Regions from separate parts of the Homo sapiens genome. Here region 1 is linked to region 2. The links are contacts of gene promoters, found by promoter capture Hi-C in blood cells and fetal thymus (Javierre and others, 2016). All regions are on one chromosome and are shown on one strand. Each heading gives the region's core, a stretch centred on a gene start or on the middle of the fragment in contact. The rest is flanking DNA. Distances are from core to core; before and after follow the strand shown. Region 1 holds the start of PIK3R3 (phosphoinositide-3-kinase regulatory subunit 3). Region 2 holds the start of NASP (nuclear autoantigenic sperm protein).

The links. Contacts are between HindIII fragments. The CHiCAGO score rates a contact against its expected background, and 5 or more counts as called.
Region 1: a contact is called between the fragment with the promoter of PIK3R3 here and the fragment with the promoter of NASP in region 2, in 2 of 17 cell types (fetal thymus and erythroblasts). The highest score is 7.1, in fetal thymus.

What each region holds. Positions count from the first base shown.
Region 1 is chr1:46,127,901-46,133,921 of GRCh38, reverse strand. It overlaps PIK3R3 (phosphoinositide-3-kinase regulatory subunit 3), which reads left to right and starts at 1,293. Exons shown (of 10, transcript NM_003629.4): 1 at 1,293-2,075. The coding sequence starts at 1,970. All of the region lies in intron 1 of P3R3URF-PIK3R3 (P3R3URF-PIK3R3 readthrough), which reads left to right. It overlaps LOC101929626 (a long non-coding RNA gene), which reads right to left and starts at 551. Exons shown (of 3, transcript NR_125987.1): 1 at 532-551. RefSeq lists enhancers at 511-740, 1,981-2,030. The HindIII fragment of the contact is 2,525 bases long and covers 1-2,497 here.
Region 2 is chr1:45,582,276-45,588,598 of GRCh38, reverse strand. NASP (nuclear autoantigenic sperm protein) reads right to left here and starts at 4,558. Exons shown (of 15, transcript NM_002482.4): 1 at 4,394-4,558. The coding sequence starts at 4,452. RefSeq lists enhancers at 1-271, 4,663-4,972, 5,423-5,482, 5,893-5,942 and silencers at 3,863-4,162, 5,073-5,132. The HindIII fragment of the contact is 9,802 bases long and covers 4,376-6,323 here.

The sequences.
Region 1 (6,021 bases), core at 44-2,543, 550 kb before region 2:
GAGGGTCTGTCAGGGAAACAGAATAGAGCCCTTTTGGTGAGAGATTCCAACACCTGTGACTTATCTTAGAAATTACACATGCACTGTAATTCCAAGACTTTTTTTTTTTTTAATTGGTTTGAGCACTCGAGCAGGAGGGCTTGCTGAGACCTCTCACTATTTTAGGCGTGGGGAGTTACCTCTGGGTTCAAAAGTCTTTGGGTGGGAAGCACAGAGGAACTGCGAAATGCCTCCCTCAGAAATGTCCAATTGCTCAAGGGGAGAAGCAGGGAGTGGGGTCAGGTAGCAGCCAGGAAGGTTGCAGGGGCCACGGGCACATCCTCTCCCTGAGTGGTAAGGTGGCAAGTGGGTTTGGGGACCATTGCTTTGACAACTTGTCAAGGGTGCGGAGAGGGCTGTCCCAGCAAGGTGAAGAGGTCTGTAGGAAAGGAGTCTCCCCAGAGACCTCCTAAGGACCAGAAGAGCGCGCACCCCGCCAAGTGACAGAACGTGCCCCCTCTGTGTCCGCTCCCTTCCCCCGCGGCCAATCACCGGGCAGAGGCGTCTCACGCCAGCAGGTCCTCCCTGGCTCCTCTCCTTACTCGTCCGGGCGGACCAAGCCTCAGCAGGAGCCCCGCCTGTCTCCAGGCAGTTTGAGCCCCCGAGCGCTCGCCCAGCCTGTCAGTAACCGCCGTTTGCGTTTTCTTCCTTTCTTTCTTTCTTTTTTTTCCTCCTCTTTTCTTTTCCCCTTCTGCCTTTGTCCCGCTTAGTAACTGGGCTCTGACCAATCGCCGCCTTACCGGCCGGCGCCGGCTGTCTCCTGATTGGCCCGCTTGGGGCGCGCAGCCGTCTCCCGCTCCTTCGCAGGAGCAAGGCAGACAAAAGACGCAGGCTCCAGGCTCCGGCAACCGGCCTCAGCCAATCACCACCCACCTTGCCTCTCTTCCCTCGCCCCACTCCCTCCTCGCCTGGCTCGCGTGCTCCCGGCACTGACTCCTGGAGTGCGGCCAGCGCCCGGATCGTACCATTCTGATTGAGGCTGGGGGAGAGCGCGGATGGCTGATTGGGGAGCCGAAGCCTAGAGAGCGGTGGGGAGACGTGAAAGTCGAGATGGAGAGCAGCTTTTTGAACATGTTCTCAGGCACTTGACAGAATCCCGGTACATCGAGGCGGGACGGCGTGGAAGGGGCGGTGGTGATGCCTGCTGTCCCCCCTCCCGGCGCGGTTGGGTGGCGCCTCAGCGGGTGGGCAGCATGGGGCGGGGAGGGTGTCCCCTCCGCGCCGTTAAAATGAAACTCTAGTGGCTGGAGTCCGGGCAGAGCTTGAGGGCAGTTGGTGCGGTCGGGTTGGTTCTTACACCCCGGCGGGAGCGCCCAGACAAGCCGAGCTGACTGGACTTCTCCGGCCGGCCCCATTCCCGAGGCTGCGGCAGCTTCGGTTCCGAGACCGACCGGAGAGGAGCCCGAGTCCCGGCCTCTGGGGGATTCGCTCTCTGCAGACCAGTGGGACCCCGAAACTTGAACGCAATCTCCAGCCCCCTTTTTTGCCTTCCTTTGTCACTTGCCCGGGTTTCTCCCAACGTGTTCTTTTTTTTCCTCTTCATTCTCCCTCCTTCGAAGGACACAAAAGTGGCTTCCGCGGAAAGATTTGGAGGCGGTGGGAGCTTTTCTCCCCGGAGAGCGACTGTGTAGAAAGGATTTTTGGGAAGCCGCTTTTTAACACCTCTGCTCTCCGTCCCCCAAGCCTCTGTGTAATCCTCTGAGGAGAAAAGCCCATAGCTTGAAAGTTCGGGGGCATTTTGTTGTGTTCTGTAGGAGAGAGGGGGAGGACCCTGTTCGGGTAGTTTGGCCGGACTGGTACTGGCCGTTGGAAAACCCGAAGTACATTTCCGTGTGGAACTTTTGCAGATATATATTTTTAGATTTTTAAATACCAGATAAAAAATATATGCCTTCTATATATCTCCTGGCGACCTGCCCCTGACAGCGCGATGTACAATACGGTGTGGAGTATGGACCGCGATGACGCAGACTGGAGGGAGGTGATGATGCCCTATTCGACAGAACTGATATTTTATATTGAAATGGATCCTCCAGGTACTTGGGAGAAAAAAAAAAAGAATCTCGTGATGGGTCTGATTTGTATTTACCAAGAGCTTGCTGATGTTTTCAGGGCAGAAGTATTCCTGGGTGCGCTAGGTTCGGGATGAGGAGATTTGCAGTTACAGCTGCGGTAAAACTGCTTCTGGTTTACACGTTTAAAGTTTGCAGTTAGGACCCTGATCCTATTGTCCTGCGAAGGTGGGGGTGGGGGCTGGAAGTGGGGGTGGGAGGAGAGACCCCTTTTTAAAATTATCATTATTTTTTACTTTGCCTTTGCGTGTCGTTCAGGTTTTTCTTGTGCCCGCCACTTTATTTTATTTTTTTCTTTTTCAATTAAAGACTCTTCTACCTGCAAAGGATGTTTTATATCCCGGGGTTAAAACCAGTCTTTCACTTTGGGCGAATTCTTGAAAGCTTGTCCTTTCATACATTTGTCTAATTTGGTTCGTTGTGTTTTACCCCGGTTAACTTCTGAAACTGAGTTATGTGATTATTCATTGTAAGACTCCCTTTTTCTCTTGCAGAAACAAATGCCGGTTAGTGATTTTTTTTAGGGATTGGGCGTTCGTATTCAGCCATGGTCTTAGTCTGAGGTTTTCCTTCTCAGAAGATAGTCGCTCAGAGAAATCTACGTGCAATATTTTATTACTCTTTAATTTAATGATGATTTAACTTAATTTATGGGATAGGGTTTAATGTAACTTCAATTCCTAGAATAAAGAAAAAGCAAAAACAAAAACGAGGGAACCTTTCTGTTTCCTGTGAACGTGTGATATATACATATGTGTTCCTATACACGTAATGTAAAGTATACATATATAGCACTATATTTTTATTTTAAAGCTCTGTCTGACGCTATTACAGACATTTTGTGTATCTGGTAGGAAAGGAAAAGGAAAGCAAAATGGAAAAGTTGGCTTTTTTTTCCTTTAAAGTCTACCCCATTTTATGATTATTAGCTGTCAGATTTTCTCAAACCCTGTTTGCAGTTACAGATGGTGTTTTATGTAATGATTCTGAATAAGTAGAGAGCCTTTGTGACTCCTTGTTTCTGTCGAGGATGAATTCTTTATGTATTTTAAAACGTGTTATGGCTAAGTCTACAGAATAAAATGTGTGTCATTGGGGAACCTCGTTTATTATAAGACTGTATTTTTGGAAACGTTTGAAAGGATTTGAGCCATGCAAGTGTGAAGAAGTGTAACTGTCTTATAGAAGGTATGTAGAAATTGTTTCCTGTGTCCTTGCAAACGGTGAATTATCCTGTTTTTTTTTTCAATTAGTCAGTGTTAAATGGTGCTGTACTAAAAACTAGTATTGAATAAACCTTTTTCACTCTTGATGATCACTTAGAATTTTTTTCTTTTCCTTTATTTCAGAGCTTTATTTGCTTTTATAATTGTGACTGCAATCCAGATGCAGCTTTTCAGTGTTTTGTAAAGTTTGTAAGATTTGCCACCCATCTATTGTGTCTTTCCCCCTTTGTTTCCCCCTAACGGTAAAGCATGTTAGATACATTTGTCATACATATGAATAGAAATTTAGTACATCACTGGTACTTTTATTGTAAAAAGTAAGGTTAATAATTCTAGATTCCTGTTATAAGAATTATATATTCAAACTGCCTTAGAATTATACTGCATTATATAGTACCTTGCCTTGCAGACATACAAAGGGAATTTGTTGGGTGGGAGGTGAGTAGGGAGGAGGGGAGAAAATGAAGAATGCACTTATGGTTGAAATATATTAGCCTAGTAGAAAAATACTGGTCAAGTTGAGTTGAGTTGTCCAAAAATAATTTTAAGAAAAGTTGACTGTTATAACTATATGGAGACGTGGGTCTTATAAGGTTGTATAGAAAATTCTGATCCAAACTTTATTTTCCATGGAAATAAACATTTGAGTTTAAAATGTTCATCCTTGAATGAAATTGTGCATACTGAGATTCTATTGAGAATACTGAAAAATACATATGCTGTTCTTTATTACCCCTTTTGTAGCTTTAATGTAGAATATGGTTAGTTATTCCTAACAGCTTTTTGAAAACGAAGCACACTTGAGTATGCTGAAACATTGCCTATGAAGTGAATGGTTTTTCATGGAAATAGTGTGAATGTCAACCTTGTTTTATGTGATAAATTAAGTTTTCAAAACATTTAAAACTGTATCATTAGTGAAGTGGTTGCAGCATGTTTTGTAGGTTTTTCCTAGCTCCCACCCCACATCAAGCTCTTATTATTTCCTTCCTGGACTGCTGTGATAGCGTACTAACTGCTCTCCCATTTCTATCCTGTTCAAGCCACGGTAATGTTAAGAGTATCATCTGATGATTTATCTTACAATGATAAATCTTCCAATGGGTTTAAAAACCTCTGAATGGCTTCCCTTTGCCTACAAAATAAATAAATAAATAAATAAATAAATAAATAAATAAATAAAATCCCCCAATTGCTTACCCTCTCATATAAGTCCCTCTAATTTTTGCTTCCAACTTAATTTTCTAGTTAATTCTCCTCCTGGAGTGCATCATAAATTCTATAGAAGCAATTTTGTATTTGCTGTTACTTGAATGTATGCTTTTTTTCCTCTTCCTGGGATGCCTTTCACTCACAATAGTTACATGTTGAAATCTTATATGTATGTGTTTTTAGGACCCAGGTCAGATACCTTTGGTGTCAGAATATGTTCTCTAAACCCTTCTGTTAAAAGTCATCCCTCCTTCCTCTTGCCTCCCTCTTCTAGCACTTCTTCTTCTTTTTTTTTTTTTCCTGAGGCAGAGTCTCACTCTGTTGCCCAGGCTGGAGTGCAGTGGCGCCATCTTGGCTCACTGCAATCTCCGCCTCCTGAGTTCAAGTGATTCTCCTGCCTCAGCCTCCCAAGTAGCTGGGATTATAGGCATGTACCACCACACCAGCTAATTTTTGTATTGTTAGTAGAGACAGGGTTTCACCAGGCTGATATCGAACTCCTGACCTCAGGTGATCTGCCTGCCTCGGCCTCCCAAAGTGCTGGGATTACAGGCGTGAGACCCCGCGCCTGGCCTACTCTTGTAGCACTTCTCAGATGAAATTTTTTCCATTCTGTCTAGAGAAGCTACTGTACTATTTATGTATGCTTCTCCCTATGAAATTGGCTTCCCACCTGGTCATGAGCTGCTTAGCTTGCCCAGGGTCTTGCAAGTAGTAGACAATTTAGTCAGTATATGTTTAATTAGTAAATAAGGAACATTGTTTCCTTCTAGTCTTTAGGTGCCTTTCTACTTAAGGTCCTTGCTCAACTCATTGCTTGGCTATTGTAGTAGCCTAGGGCTAAATAACTTTTGAATTAGACATTTGTTGACTTAGGGCCCTTAACTGTAATGGTGCCAATATTTTTATATGTTTTTTCATCTTTATTTTATTTTCAAGACAGAGTCTCGCTGTGTCGCCCAGTCTGGAGTGCAGTGGCTCTATCTCGGCTCACTGCAACCTCCACATCCTGGGTTCAAAGGATTCTTGTCCCTGAGCCTCCCGAGTAGCTGGGACTACACAGGCGCATGCTACCATGCCTGGCTAATTTTAGTATTTTTAGTAGAAATGGGGTTTTGCCATGTTGGCCAGGCTGGTCCTGAGCTCCTTGCCTCAAGTGATCTGCCCACCTCGGACTCCCAATGTGTTGGGATTACAGACGTGAGCCACTATGCCTAGCCTTTCATCTTAATTTTAGACTGAGCCATAAATGCCAAGTTTTATCTATTATTGCTTCTAGTGGCCTCAAAAACTATTTTTCAAAGATGTTTCCCTCTAGCCTATCTTTTCAATAACTAACATTGTTGTGCATCCTGAAGGTTCCTAATAACTGCATGGATTGGTGTATCTACAGTCATAGTAATGTAAAAGTTGAATCCAAATGGGAGTTTAATGTCTTAATGTTTGTGTATTTCCTGGCAGCAGTAGATATA
Region 2 (6,323 bases), core at 3,309-5,808:
AGTCAAAGATAGGGTTAAGGAGAAATTGTACTCCCATACATTGCTAACAGAAATTCAAGGCTAGGCTCACAGCTATAATCCCTGCACTTTGGAAGGCAGAAGGACTGTTTGAGGCTAGGAGTTTGAGACCAGGCTAAGCAGCAAAATGAGACCCCTTCTCTAGTTCAAAAAATTAATTTTAAAAAAAGAAGTGTAGCCTGGGCACGGTGGCTAACGCCTATAATCCCAGAACTTTGGAAAGGCAAGGTGAGTGGATCACCTGAGGTCAGGAGTTCGAGACCAGCCTGGCCAACATGGTAAAACCTCATTTCTACTAAAAATACAAAAATTAGCCAGGTGTGGTGGCGGGCGCCTGTAATCCCAACTACTTGGGAGGCTGAGGCAGGAGAATTGCTTGAACCCTGGAGGTGGAGACTGCGGTGAGCCTAGATCGCACCAGTGCACTCCAGCCTGAGCAACGGAGTTAGACTCTGAATGACTACAGTCATGCGCAACCACGCCTGGCTGATTTTTGTATTTTTAGTAGAGACGGGGTTTTGCCATGTCAGCCAGGCTGGTCTCGAACTCCTGGCTTCAAGTGATATGCCCGTGTTGGCTTCCCACAGTGTTGGGATTACCACGTGAGCCACACCACCTGGCCCTTTTTTTTTTGAGATGGAGTCTTGCTCTGAGGCTAGAGTGCAGTGGCACAATCTCGACTCACTGCAACCTCTGCCTCCCGGTTTCAAGCGATTACAGGACCCTGCTACCCATGCTCGGCTAATTTTTGTAAACTGTAGTCTCAGCTACTTGGGAGGCTGATGCACAAGAATCGCTTGCACAGGGGAGGCAGAAGTTGCAGTAAGCCAAGATCTGGCCACTACACTCCAGCTTGGGCAAGACAACAAGACTCTCTCTCCAAAAAATTAATTATATATATATATATATATATATATATGAAAAAACTCAAGACAAACCTCATAGCCTAGAAATGTTGAATTAACAAAATGTATGTAATCAATGCATAAAAGATATGTAGGTACTAGTCTTCTTCACTACCATAAAATACAAATTATAAAAAGTTAAAATTCATCAAAACACACAGACCATACACGGCACCATCCACAGTTGAGATATGTAAATGAACAAAGATGCAGTATTAAATCATAACTGCAGCCGGGCACGGTGGCTCACGCCGAGACCGGCTGATCACCTGAGGTCAGGAGTTCGAGATCACCCTGGCCAACATGGCAAAACCCCAAAAAATTAGCCAGGTGTGGTGGTACACACCTGCAGTCCCAGCTACTTGGGAGGCTGAGGCAAGAGACTTGCTTGAATCCGGGAGGGCGGAGGTTGCAGTGAGCAGAGATTGTGCCACTGCACTCCAGCCTGGGTGACAAAACTCCCTCTCAAAAAAAAAACAACAAAAAAAAACCAACTAAGAACTAGTTAGAAAGCTAAGAATGACAGGATTAATTTAGCATGTAGATATACATCACCTTAAACAATACTGCTTTAATGGCACGAGGGGACAAAAGCCAACCTAAGACTTTTTGCAGACGACAAAACTGTGGTCCAATATCACTACTGAAGCAATGAAGCTGCTATCAAAGCCAATTCTAAGCCAGGCGAGGTGATGCATGCCTGTAGTCCCAGCTACCCAGAAGGCTGAGATGGAAGGATTGCTTGAGACTAGGAGTTGGGAATCCAGCCTGGGCAACATAGTAAGATCCTCATCTCCTAAATTTAAAAAACCTGAACTGAGGTTTATTTCTCATTCCATTTTTTTTCTTTCTACTGGTTTGGAAGTTATATTTATTCTTTCAATGGTCATCCTCGAATTATAATGTACATTCTTACCTAAAGTCTAAATTCAAGTCATTTTCTTTATCCTACCCTTAAACATGAGGACCTTATAAACTTTACCTCTAAGTGTCCCCACTAACTTACTTAACTGAGACACACTGCTTTCATGTTCTCTCACACTAATTAGATGGGGAAACGAAGAATGAAAATGAAAATGAAAATACTAGCCAGGCTTGGTGGCTCACGCCGGTAATCTCAGCACTTTGAGAGGCCCACGTGGGTGGATCCCTTGAGCCTAGGCGTTGGGAGACCAGCCTGGGCAACATGGCAAAAACTCGTCTTTACAAAATAAATACTAGAATCAGCTGGGCCTTGTGGTGTGCGCCTGCAGTCCCAGCTACTCGGGAGGCTGAGGCCGGACAATCACTTGAGGCCAGGAGGTAGGGGCTGCTGTGGGCCGAGATGGCATCACTGCACTCCAGCCTGGGTGACACACACACACACCACACACACACACACACACACACACCACACACACACACACACACACACACACACACACACACACACACACGGCACGGTAGGGGCTGCAGGGGGCCGAGATGGCATCACTGCACTCCAACCTGGGTGACAGAGACCCTGCCCCCCCACCCCCACACACCCAGCACATATAATTGCTCAGTTTTAGCTTTCAATTTATGCTGTGAGGAACTAAATGGTTTGCTTTCTTCTAGCCACATATACATAAACTTTCTCTATGTATAACCTGCCAGGAAACTAAATTCACTAATGACCTAACTCTGGCTAGACACAGGGGACCTGCAAGAGGTATTTGTTGCATACTTCTACCTCAAAAAACAAAAACAAAAACACCTGGCCCTGCGCCGTGCCTCACGCCTGTAACCTCAACACTTTGGGAGGCCAAGGCGGGAGGACTGCTTGAGTCCAAGAGTCTGAGACCAACCTGGGCAACATTAAGACCTTGTATCTACAAAAAATTGGCCAGGTGTAGTGGCACACCTGTAGTCCCAAGCTACTAGGGAAGATCAGTTGTGCCCAGGAGTTCGAGGTTGCAGTGAGCTATGATCACAACACTACACTCCAGTCTGGATGTGAGATCCAGACCCTGTCTGCAAAAACAAAACAAAAACACACAGCTGTCAGTGAAATACTGACTGCTAGAGCTGTCTAGGAAACATTATAAAAAGCAGCTCTTTTTATAATAGCTATAGCACGACTCCCAAGCCCAATCTATACTGCTTATATCGAATCAATGGGGAAAGAGGCAGGTAATGGGAGTTTGAAATTAAAATTGTATTTCCCATGAGTTCCCAAATGATTCTCAGGGTGACTTGAGAACCACTGCTCTACAAGAACGCAGAGAGAAAAGGTGGTAAGCAGAGATATACGTAAATCTCTAACTATAAACAAACAAAGACATAATCATGACAGAGTGTAAGCCTATAGAATATCAATTTAAAAAACTTCACAGCAACCATTCCTTTTACAGGGAAGGCAACTAACCTCTAAAGCGCACAAGATTAGAAAAAAAAATAGAACCAGATGCCTAAAAAAATATGGCAAGATTGGGAAATCAGACCTACTGTATGGGAAACAGCACTTGTTTCCTTGAACTCGTGTAGTGTTTCCCTCCACTGTTCAAAAAACAGATTACGCCTGAGTGGCACTGTGCCGCTTTCAAAACAATCCTATCTTGTTTCCCTCCAGTCCTTCTCCACTTCGTGCATACTACTGCCGATTCACCTAGCAACCAAACAGTGCTGGTGAGAGCTCCAGACAGCGCTTCCTGAAGACGCTTTACGTCCGGTAATGTTCCCCCCAAACAGACACCACCTCCAAAGTCTAAAGAACGACAATCCTCCCCACCACAGGCAGGGGCTCACGGAGTCGCGGGGAGCGATAACTATCTCCCAGCACAAGACGTGAGCGAGGTGTCGGGGGGAACTAGCCTCGCCGGCCCCACGGAGATAGTCCAAAGCTCCTGCTGGAGCCGCAGCGGCCCCAAACAATGGAGTTTTCCCGCCTCCTCAAGGCCCCGCCCCCTGCCCCAGGGCCGGCGAGGGAAGCGAACGCACGCGCGCAAAACCCCGCCCTCAGCAAGGCCCCGCCCACCCCGACCCCTCAGGTCCAGCCTCCTTCCTCGTGCAAGGTTTTTTTTCCCTTTTGGCGCCAAATCTTCGTTGGTTATATTCCCGGGTTATCCAGGGGTTCTACCAGAGGCACACGCTGGGGACAGAAGGGGCGTGAAGGCCAACCCGCGCGCCAGGGCCCCGCCTCCCGGCCAACCGCCCCGGGCTGGGGGAGGAAGGAGAGGGGCAGGCGAAGGATACAGCCGCCGCTGCCCCCGGCAAGATGGCGGCCGCGAAAAGCGGGGCAGGGGGCGCCAGCCGACCGCCGTTACCGCTGCTGCGCGAGGCTCTCAGCAAAAGAAGGACTGCTCCAGTGACCAGGCCTTCCCGAACAGCGACAGCTGCTCTTGGGAAGGCAAGTACTCCCGCCCACCGGTCTGCCCCTTCTCCGGAGCCCCCGTCCATTAGCCCTCCCCGCGGACTGGCCAGTGCCTTAAGCTTTCCACAGTCCCGCTTACTTGTCGGCAGAAACCAGCTCCGCGGCGACGGCGGCAGTGGCTGTGGACTCCATGGCCATCGTTCCCCTGAGGTGGCGAACCAGCGAACGGAATAGAGCCTGCGAGAAAAACAGGCAATTTGGGACGCCAGAGACTCACTCAGGGACAGAAAATGGCAGATTAGAGACCCCGCGCGGCCGGGGCCCTTTTATATACGAGGACCCTTCGCCCCGCCCATCCACTTCCGGATCCTCCCCCTCGGGTTTAAAGGGCCAGGACTCACCACCCATACCCTCCGTCCCCCGCCGGCCTACCACTATCTAGACACCTCCTGCCCTCTCCATATGGCTCCGCGGGATTGTTTCCCTCCCTAGCCCGACTTCTCCAATAAACAGCAACTTCCTGCTTCTCCAGCAAGTCGCATAAGAAGAACTGGAATCTTGACACTACAACTCCTGACAGGACGCCCCTGCGGCATCCAGAGACAGGGAAGCCAGTGCTGCTCTGCATGTTCAGGGCGAGTAGCTGAGAGTCTCCTTCCGGCCTGGATACTGAGGAAGGTGACTTAGACTTTCTCTCCGTCCTCTGAGTCGTAACGGACGGACACGCAAGGGCCGAGGACGGGTACAAGCAGCAGCGACTAGAACTGATCTGGGTGAGATCTAGGCCTCAGCAACAACTGACGCAAAAAGATTTTGTTCTAGGATTGGCTACAGCTGAAACTACCGCGCTTGATTCAAAGCTCGGGGCTTGCAGCGGGAGGCAGCTGGCTCCTCCCTCTGAACCCGCCCCCTTTGGCTGGCCCAATCCGCTGATCCCATCCTCTTAGGCCCTGCCCAGACTCCAAATCTACCAGAATTAATGCTCCCAGCGCTGTTTGTCCACTCCTGCCTATGATTTGCTGTGTGACTACTACTCGTGGGGGTACCGTGATTAGACGCTTTAAAGCTATTAGCTATCTTGTTTAATATTAACAATGCTACTAGTGAGATCAGTGTTAGTCTGTTTCTTAGAAAAATAAACCAAGGGGCCGGACGCGGTGGCTCACGCCTGTAATCCCAGCACTTTGGGAGGCCTAGGCTGGTGGATCACGAGGTCAGGAGTTCAAGACCAGCCTGGCCAAGATGGTGAGACCCCCCCGTCTCTACTAAAAAATACAAAAATTAGCCGGGCGTGGTGGCGGGCGCCTGTAATCCCAGCTACTCGGGAGGCTGAGGTAGGAGAATACTAGAACCCGGAAGGCAGAGGTTGCAGTGAGCCGAGAGCTCGCCACTGCACTCCAGCCTGGGCAACAGAGCGAAACTCCGTCTCAAAAATAAATAAATAAATAGGCCAAGGTTCCAACCTGGCCAACATGGTGAAACCCCGTCTCTACTAAAAATACGAAAATTAGCCAGGTGTGGTGGCAGGCTCCTGTAATCCCAGCTACTCGGGAGGCTAAGGCAGGAGAATCACTTGAACCCGGGAGGCAAAGGTTGCAGTGAGCCGAGATCTCGCCACTGCACTGCAGCCTGGGCAACAGAGCGAGACTCCGTCTCAAAAAAAAAAAAAAGGGGAAGCTGTGACTTGTTCAGAAAGTTGCAAGACAAATCAGTTATGGAAAGCAGTGTGCCTCATTTCCTGCAAATGGCTGAGTGAAAAATAACTGGCAGGCTAAAAAGCTGCAATTCCTCACACCTGGAGTATCATCCATTCCTTTTCACCATGGCCCAGTCTACGCTGATCGGAGTAGGGGTTTTTATTTCCCTTTAGGTTCCAGCATATTGGGAAAGATTCCTGGAGAGGATTCTTATTCCAATCTGTCAAGGCTCGAAGAGGTTGAAATCTTTGGGGCTAGAGAGCTGGACGTGAAAATGCCAATTCCTATGGCAAACATACATGGGCTCTTCCATTATTAGCTAGGTGACGTGAGCCAGGTCACGTAACCCGGATTGTAATCGAGTAGCTGGGA